Linked DNA regions of Homo sapiens: region 2 is linked to region 1. Evidence: promoter capture Hi-C in 16 types of primary human blood cells and fetal thymus (Javierre and others, 2016). All regions are on one chromosome and are shown on one strand. The core of a region is centred on a gene start or on the middle of the fragment in contact, and the rest is flanking DNA. Distances in the headings are between cores, read along the strand shown.

Region 1 (4,542 bases), core at 898-3,397:
AACCTGCAGTGCAGTTTTACAACTTCTGGCTCTGTGTCACTCAATATTCTGCTTCCAAAATCAGTATCAACTTTACACAGTGAAGAGCTGATCAGTAACCTAAGTTCTACTGAATGAATGTTAATAGGAGCTTAAATTCCACCCTTAAGGCCTTTTCTAATAAAAATGAATTCTTCATATTTCGATTATTTGACATGTATTCAAGTGGCCAGCCTGTAGGGGGGGAAAAAGGCAAAATTGGGCCGTAAAATGGAATTAAGCTGACTTCTCAAAGCCAATTGATCTAAAGACAAATCCTAGCAACTCAACAGACCACAGATATTATCTGTTTACAAAATTGTGTTTCTGTTAACTGTTTAGCTTCAAAATAAAAGCACAAAGTTAGCTGCATTTCCCCCATAAATTTCAAGCTCAATTTAATCTCCGTTATTTTGTACTCAGTCATTTCCCAAGATTTACAGGTATCATGGGCCACTTTTAAAAATAAAAGAGAAACTTGAACTTCTTGCATGCTACAGATAAGACTGGTCCAGTTGGAATTACACTAAAGTAACATTTTATAGCCAAAGTTGACTATTTTATAAAGAAAAGCCCCTCAAAACGACAGGAACTATTTCAGAAGGTAACATAATATACTCGAAAACCACCAGTACTGTGAATCTAAGATAAAATTTGACTAAAAATGGTCTAAGTTGCCTGAGAAAACTGGCCTTCAAAGTGGTCGGCTGCCACATCCCCTCCTCCCACTCTGCCCTTTTAATGTTAGAGAAATGCTTGATCTAGGGGAAACCCCAAATGCATGTCTCCGGTAAATTCCATTCCTAGATCCATCAGTCACTGATGAGTTCTGGGAAGTGGACTCACAAGCCTGAGGACCACCACCACACCACACATCGCCACAGGAACTTTATCCTAAGGCCTGGTGGCTCCCCCAGGCGACTGGGCCAGGAGCAGGAGCAGAAGCAGGCCTCGGGCCTGCGAGGTTACAGGGTTCAACACGTGGTATTTTTCGAGCACAGAACTGCACTTCCTCCCCAGGCTGGGGCGCCGGCAGGAGCTCCGGGTGGTGGGAGCGCCTCCACCTCTTACCCACGGAAGGAGCTCAGCGTTCAACGCCCCAGAATCCCGGGGCCACTGGCGGGAGCGCCGCGGAGGAACCGAATCTCACCCACCCTCCCGGCGCGTCATCACCCTAAAGTTTGAGAGCGTCTGAGGCCGAGAAAATGGTCGCAAAGGAGGAAGTAGCCGGGCGTGTGGCTGCCGGCAGCGCGGGTCCCCGCCGGCTCGGGAAACGCGGCTCCAGGGACCCCGGCGCCTTCCCGCCGGCCGTCGCGGGGTGACATGCCCTCCCGCCCCCCTCCCCGGGCCCGCCGGCCTACCCCGCCCGCCGCCGCCGCCCGAGCCTCATGGCCGCCCGCCCGCCCGGCCGACCGCGGAGCCCGGCGCTCACCGTCCGCCGGCTGCTGGAAGTTCACATACGCGTAGCCCAAGGAGCGGCGGGTGATCATGTCCCTGCAGACCCGGATGGAGAGGATGGGCCCGGCCGGGCTGAACTTCTCGTAGAGCATCGCCTCGGTCACGTCGGGGTGGAGGTCCCCCACGTAGAGCGAGGCCATGGGGTAGCTGGGGGCACTGGGGTTCATCTCGGCACGGCTGCCCGCAGGGCCACAGGCCGCGACCTTTCCGTGAGAGGAGGAGAGCGAGTGCCGGGGCTGGGGGCCGGAGCCGGGGGGAGGGGAGCGGGGAGCAAGCGCAGAGGGACAAAAATCAACCGGAATTGAAAACTACTCAACGGCCGCAGAACGGGGTCGATCCACTGCCGCTGGCTGCCGGCTGCCGGCGGGGAGCGAGGGTGGCGGTGTCGGGTCCGGGCAGCGGGAAGGCCTCGGTCTCTTGGTTCCTTCTTGGAGCTGCTGCGGGGCCGCGGGCGGGCGGGTCGGTCTCGGCTGCTTCACCGGGTTATTTTATAAAAGAGGAAGAAAAAAAATAAAAGTCTCCGGCGGGGGAGACGCGGATTTTTTGTAAATTTTTTTGGGGTTTTTTAAAAGATTTTTTTAGATTTTTTTTGGATTTTTTAATAATAAATGTGTGTTCCGAGCCCGGAGCACACACTCCGCACTCTCAGCACTAACCGCCGGGGAGAAGGGGAAGCACCGCCTCCTGCACCCTCTACTTATACCCCGCGCCGCACTCGCCCCGCCCCCGCGCGTCTGACGCCAGGGCCCCTACGCGAGCGTCAGCGCCGGAGTAGGAGGAGACGCGGAGGCCAGGGGGAGGAGGGAAGAGAAAACAGGAGGAAAGAGCAGAGAGGAAGGGAGAGGTGGCGGCGGTGGAGGCTGCGGTGTGGGGGTGGGGCTCGGGCGAAGGGGCGGGGCTTTTGCGCAGGCGCCGCGGCCGGGGAAGCGGAGCCCGCGCTGCGTCGCGTCCGTGGGGGTGGGGAGGACGGCTCGCGGGCGGTCCTCGGGGGTGTTGGCTGAGGCGTCCCCGCCTTCCGCCCCGCCCGCCCCTGCCTCCACCAGGAGGAGCGTTAACCCGTCACCGCGGCGGTGGGCGGTGCAAAGGGCTTCCGGGTTCCTCCGCGCTAACCACCCCCCACGTGCGCGGCCGCCTGTGGCCTCTTCCCGCTGCGGCCGGCCCGGCTCCTCTAGCCCCAGCTCCGGGGGACGCCGGGCACGGGTGAGCGGGCGTGGTCCCCTCCGGGCCCGGTTTCCGAAACGTGCGTAGATGGAGCCAGCGTGGCCCCCTGCTCTCTCCTACCCGGACCGCACTACGAGTCCCAGCCGGCACCGCCGCCACGCGCGTCGGCCGCAGAAGCGGTGCCTGCTGGGAGCTGGAGTCCCCAACGGCCGCGGCGCTCGCTGACACCAACTGGCTGCGCGGGTCCTGGCCGCCCGCTCCGGGACCCCCCAACCGTCCTGCGCGCTGGACCCCGGCACCGCTGGAGCTCCCGGCGCGGGGTTGGGGGGCAGGGAGAGAGAGGGGAGGGCCCCTCGGGTTCCTCGTCCTCTTCTTTTCCAGCCCGACCCTCCTCCGTGTCTTCACTGGACGTTGTCGTTGGTCAAAGTGGCTTTAATTTGGGATAGCTGTGTTGGGGGTCTTTGGTCACTTCTTACCTTAAGGTGCTAGGCTGGAATCATTGATTTGTGCTGCTTCTGCCAGACATTTCTTGGCGATAGAAACCAGGAGTGGAGAAAAGTGAATGTTTTTCCTGAAAGTACGGGTTTGTCACAATCACTACTATATGGCACCACAGCCCTGCAACCAGACAAAATTAGGAATAGTCTAAAACAACGTCCTTATAAATAACTAAAACAATTCTGCACATTAGTAGTGGGTTTTAATAGGAATGCTAAATTTAACGAATTGATAGTAATAAAAACCGGCTCTAGGAATGACATTAAATCAACATACAAATTCCACTCGAAAGTAGTAAAGTGCTTTTACAGTTTTTAAAGCACTCGCGTAAACATACTATCATTTGTTCCTGAGAGCAATCTGGTGTGGGAGGTGGAGCAAGTAGTAATAATTTTACTTTACTGTTACAGGAACAGTCTCAAAGAAGTTAAATGATTGCCCAATTTATTCCTTAATTCAATAAACTTTAATGGATGTCAACTGTATTGCTAGGTGTGGAATTAAGTACTTTATATCTTGTCTCATTTAATTAGAATTTAAACCAGTGGAATCCCACATAAATACTATTTTGCTCCTATTAAAAAGAGGATAAAATGTGACCGGGCGCGGTGGCTCACTCCTGTAATTCCAGCACTTTGGGAGGCTGACGCACGCTGATCACTTGAGGTCAGGAGTTCGAGACCAGCCTGGCCAACATGGTGAAACCCCGTCTCTACTAAAAATACAAAAAGTAGCCAGGCGCGGTGGCTCACGCCTGTAATCCCAGCACTTTGAGAAGCCAAGGGGGGCAGATCACGAGGTCAAGAGATCGAGACCATCCTGGCCAACATGGTGAAACCCCGTCTCTACTAAAAATACAAAAATTAGCTGGGCGTGGTGGCGCGCGCCTATAGTCCCAGCTACTCGGGAGCCTGAGGCAGGAGAATCGCTTGAACCCGGGAGGCGGAGGTTGCAGTGAGCCAGGATTGCGTCACTGCACTCCAGCCTGGTGACAGAACGAGACTCAAATAAATAAAAAATAAACAGTTGTTAGGCTTCCAGGGCAGCTTGACAGGCAGTGATGCCCTGGATGGTAAATGGAAGCATTCTCATCACTAGAAAAGTATATTAGTGCTTTGTAGGTGAATACATAGTTTGGGAAGGGAGCCAGTCATCAGGACGTCTATGCAGCTGTGGCTCTTGCACTTAGTAGATGTCATTGTCATATTTTATGGAGGTACAGTTGAGTATGTGCAAGGGAAAGTAGAAGCAAAGTCCATACCTGAGGACAAGGAGCTGCTATTTAATAGAATAGGAGAGAGAGTCAGAGCCCAGGAGGAAACAGGAGTGGGATCTGGAACTGAAACCAAGAACCTGTTCCCTTGATCCATCAATCACCTCTTTTTATTTCCAGCCAGCTGCTTTCGC
Region 2 (4,542 bases), core at 519-3,018, 5.9 Mb before region 1:
AAAAATTAAGAACAATAACTTCTCTGATCCTCAGCTTCTTCAGCTGTAAGGTGAGCTCATAATTCCTACTTTCTAGGATGTTGAAAGATCAAATGAGAAAACGAGGATATAAAGGCCCTAATTTGGGTCATGGTATGTAACAAATGCTCCATAATAGTTTGTTTCTATGAGCCCATAGAATTTTTCATGGGTTTTGAGGAAATATCAGGGACTTTAAAAGCATCTATATATGGCTGGGCACAGTGGCTTACACCTGTAATTCCAGCACTTTGGGAGGCCAACGTGGGAGGATCACTGGAGCCCAAGAGCTCCAGATCAGCCTGGGTGGGCAACATAGCAAGACCCTATCTCTGCAAAAAAATAAATAAATTAGCTGGGCATGGTGGTATTCATCTGTGGTCCCAGCTACTCAGGAGGCTGAGGCAGAAGGATCACTTGAACCCAGGATGTCAAGGAGGCAGTGAGCTAAATGCCACTGCACTCCAGCCTGGGCAACAGAGAGATACCATCACAAAACAAACAAACAAAAACCAGAACGGGGTGCGGTGGCTCACGTCTGTAATCCCAGCACTTTGGGAGGCTGAGGCGGGTAGATCACCTGAGGTCAGGAGTTCGAGACCAGCCCGGTCGACATAGTGTAACCTGTCTCTACTAAAAATACAAAAATTAGCCAGGCATGGTGGCGTGCCTGTAATCCCAGCTACTCTGGAGGCTGAGGTAGGAGAATCACTTGAACCTGGGAGGTGGAGGTTGCAGCGAGCCAAGAGCGCACCATTGCACTCCAGCCTGGGCAACAGAGCAAGACTCTGTCTCAAAAAAAAAAAATACAGATAAAGTTGAAGTACCTGTGACCCCCCTCCCCCACTCCTTCCCCCCATTCACCTCTCCTCTCCCCTTCTCTAACCCACCCCTGTTCTATCCTCCTTCCCTCTTCTCTTCAGAGCCAAACACAGTAGGATTTTGATGTGCATGCCTCAATAAAATAGTTTCTCAGATTTTTTAGTCTCAGGGCCCTGTTAGACCAAAAAATTATTAAGCACTTAAAAGAGTGTTTGTTTATATTTACCATATTAAAAATTAACACTGAGAAGTTTTAAAAATATTTAATTTATTTAAATTAAAATAAAATAATCATATAAAAATAAAAATAATCCTATTACATGCTGACAAATACAATTTTATATAAAATAACTATTTTCATTTTAAAAACTAGAAGAGTGGCATTGCTCACATAGATGAGTAGTTAAAAAAAGAAGTATTTTATATCTTTTCGGATAATTATGGACTTTCTTCACCAAAACCTGAGAAAGTGGTTGTTTCTTAAAGATTAGCTGCAATTTTAAATCTGAAATCATACCAATTAACTTTTCAAATTCCGTTCCATTACAATTCATCAGTCTGTCTTGAAATTTTTTGTTTTGTTTTGTTTTGAGATGGAGTCTTGCTCTGTCGCCCAGGCTGGAGTACAGTGATGCGATTTCTGCTCACTGCAACCTCTGCCTCCCGGGTTCAAGCTATTCTCCTGCTTCAGACTCCTGAGTAGCTAGGATTACAGGCACCTGCCACCATGCCAGCTAATTTTTGTATTTTTAATAGAGACAGGGTTTGATCACGTTGGCCAGGCTGGTCCAAACTCCTGACCTCGTCATCCTCCCACCTCGGCCTCCCAAAGTGCTGGGATTACAGGCATGAGCCACCGTGCCCAGCTGAAATTTTTTATTTATTTACTTTTAAGAGGCAGGGTCTCGCTCTGTCACCCAGACTGGAGTACAGTGGCATGATCATAGCTCGCTGCAGTCTCCAACTCCTGGTTTCAAGTGATCATCCTGCCCCTGCCTCCCAAAGTGTTGGGATTACAGGCATGAGCCACTGTGCTCGGCTTGTCTTGGAATTTAAATAAATCTTTTAGCCATATATTAGGAAAATATTGATTGATTTGTCAAGTTGTGATGATCATCTGAAAGTTGACACATTTAAATATACATTTGTTAATATCGCCATTGGTGTCATCAGAAAAGTCTTGTCAAGTATTGGGAAGCTGCCAAGTTTACAGTTTTCTAAAATTCTAATTTTACTTAAAAAGTTGAATGTTGGCCAGGAGCGGTGGCTCATGTCTGTAATCCCAGCACTTTGGGAGGCCAAGGTGGGAGGATCACTTGAGGTCAGGAGTTCAAGACCAGTCTGGCCAACATGGTGAAACCCCATCTCTACTAAAAATAGAAAAATTAGCCAGGTGTGGTGGTGGCAGTGCCTGTAATCCCAGCTATTCGGGAGGCTGAGGCAGGAGAATCGCTTGAACCTGAGAGGTGGAGGTTGCAGTGAGCGGTGATAGCACCATTGCACTCCAGCCTGGGCAGCAAGAGCAAAACTCCATCTCAAAAAAAAAAAAAAAAAATTGAATGTTATTATTCGCCACAAATGGTGTTAGTTGTTTTCCATAAAGTGACATGACAGGCTCACTTTGTTCAAGAAAATGTCTGCTAAATACCCAAGTCTGAATGACCACAGTCTGTTCTCATTCTTTCTTTCTTTTCTTTTTTTTTTTTTTTTTGAGACAGGGTCTCACTCTGTCACCCACCTGAGTGCAGTGGTGCAATCTCGGCTCACTGTAGCCTCATCCTCTTGGGCTCAAGCAATCCTCCCACCTCAGTTTCCCACATAGCCAGGACTACAGACGCACACCACCATCCCAGCCTTATTTTTTATTTTGATTTTTTTGTAGAGACAGAAGTCTCACTATGCTGCCCAGATACGTCTTGAATTCCTGGACTCTCCACCTCAGCCTCCCAAAGTGCTGGGATTACAGGCGTGAGCCACTGCACTCGGCCAGTTTCTGTTGTTTTAAACCACAAAGTTTGTGGTAATTTGTTACAGCAGCCACTTGAAACAGATACAATGAGTATGTCACATTTTATTTGTCTATTCACCAGGTTATAGACCTTGGTTTCTACTTTTAGGCTACTGTAGATACTGCTGTTCTAAACATTCAAGTCTTTGTGTGGGTACATTTTCTCCTTTCTCTTGGATACATACCTAGAAGGGGAATTGCTGAGTCATCTGGTAAGCCTATTTTTAACATTTTTTTTTTTTTGAGACAGAGTTTCATTCTTGTCGCCTAAGCTGGAGTGCAATGGCGCGATCTCGGCTCACCGCAACCTCTGCCTCCCGGGTTCAAGCGATTCTCCTGCCTCAGCCTCCTGAGTAGCTGGGATTACAGGCATGTGCCACCAAGCCCAGCTAATTTTGTATTTTTTAGTAGAGATGGGGTTTCTCCATGTTGGTCAGGCTGGTCTCGAACTCCTGACCTCAGGTGATCCGCCCGCCTCGGCCTCCCAAAGTGCTGGGATTACAGGCGTGACCCACCGTGCCCGGCCTATTTTTAACATTTTGAGAAACTGCCAAACTGGTTTCAAAAGTGGCTGTAGCATTTTACATTTGACATGTATGGAGGTTCTAATTTCATATCATCACCAATACTTATTTTTGTCTTTTTGATCATAGCCATTTTAGTGGGTGTGAAGTGGTATTTCACACAGTTTTGTTTTGCTTTATTTATTTATGTATTTATTTGAGACAAAGTCTCGCTCTGTCACCCAGCCCAGAGTGCAGTGGCATAATCATAGCTCACTGCAGCCTGCTTCCCAGGCTCAAGCCATCCTCCCACCTCAGTCTCCCAGGGTAGCTGGGACCACAGGCATGTATCGCCATGCCTGGCTAATTTTTGTGTTTTTTGTAGAGATGGGGTCTCACGTTGTTGCCCAGGCTAGTGATTTGCGTTTCTTTTCTTTTCTTTCCTTTTTTTTTTTTTTTTTGAGACAGTCTCACTCTGTCACCCAGGCTGGAGTGCAGTGGCATGATCTCAGCTCATTGCAACCTCCACCTCCTGGGTTCAAGTGATTCTCTGTCTCAGCCTCCCGAGTAGCTGGGATTACAGACGCATCACCACCATGCCCGGCTAATTTTTGTATTTTTAGTAAAGACAGGGTTTCACCATCTTGGCCAGGCTGGTCTTGAACTCCTGACCTTGTGATCCACCCACCTCGGCCTCCTAAAGTGATGAAATCACAGGCGTGAGCCACCGCACCTGGCCGATGATTTGTGTTTCTTTAACGACTAATGATATTGAGCATTTTCATGTGCATATTGCCCATTTGTAATATCTTCTTTGGAGAATGATCAATTCAAATCCTTTTTTTTTTTTTTTTTTTTTTGTTTTGAGATGGAGTCTCGCTCTGTCGGAGTCTCGCTCTGTTGCCTAGGCTGGAGTGCAGTGGCACAATCTCAGCTTACTGCAACCTCTGCCTCGTGGGTTCAAGCAATTCTCCTGCCTCAGCCTCTCAAGTAGCTGGGATTACAGGTGCCCGCCACCATGCCAGGCTAATTTTTGTATTTTTAGTAGAGATGAGGTTTCACCATGTTGGCCAGGCTGGTCTTGAACTCCTGACCTCAGGTGATCCACCCACCTCGGCCTCCCAAAGTGCTGGGATTACAGGCGTGAGCCACCGTGCCTGGCCAATTCAAATCCTTTACTCACTGTGTTGT

Evidence for each region. Contacts are between HindIII fragments. The CHiCAGO score rates a contact against its expected background, and 5 or more counts as called.
Region 2: a fragment that was not itself captured here is called in contact with the fragment with the promoter of PABPC1 in region 1 in 1 of 17 cell types (neutrophils); the score reaches 5.5 in neutrophils.

What each region holds. Positions count from the first base shown.
Region 1 is chr8:100,719,941-100,724,482 of GRCh38, forward strand. It overlaps PABPC1 (poly(A) binding protein cytoplasmic 1), which reads right to left and starts at 2,148. Exons shown (of 15, transcript NM_002568.4): 1 at 1,451-2,148. The coding sequence starts at 1,643. RefSeq lists silencers at 1,325-1,434, 2,115-2,194, 2,275-2,984 and enhancers at 1,387-2,219, 2,274-2,774, 2,775-3,275. The HindIII fragment of the contact is 6,173 bases long and covers 1-4,542 here.
Region 2 is chr8:94,816,518-94,821,059 of GRCh38, forward strand. No RefSeq gene overlaps it. Among named protein-coding and RNA genes, the nearest start is that of INTS8, 4.5 kb to the right of the region's middle. The HindIII fragment of the contact is 7,350 bases long and covers 1-4,542 here.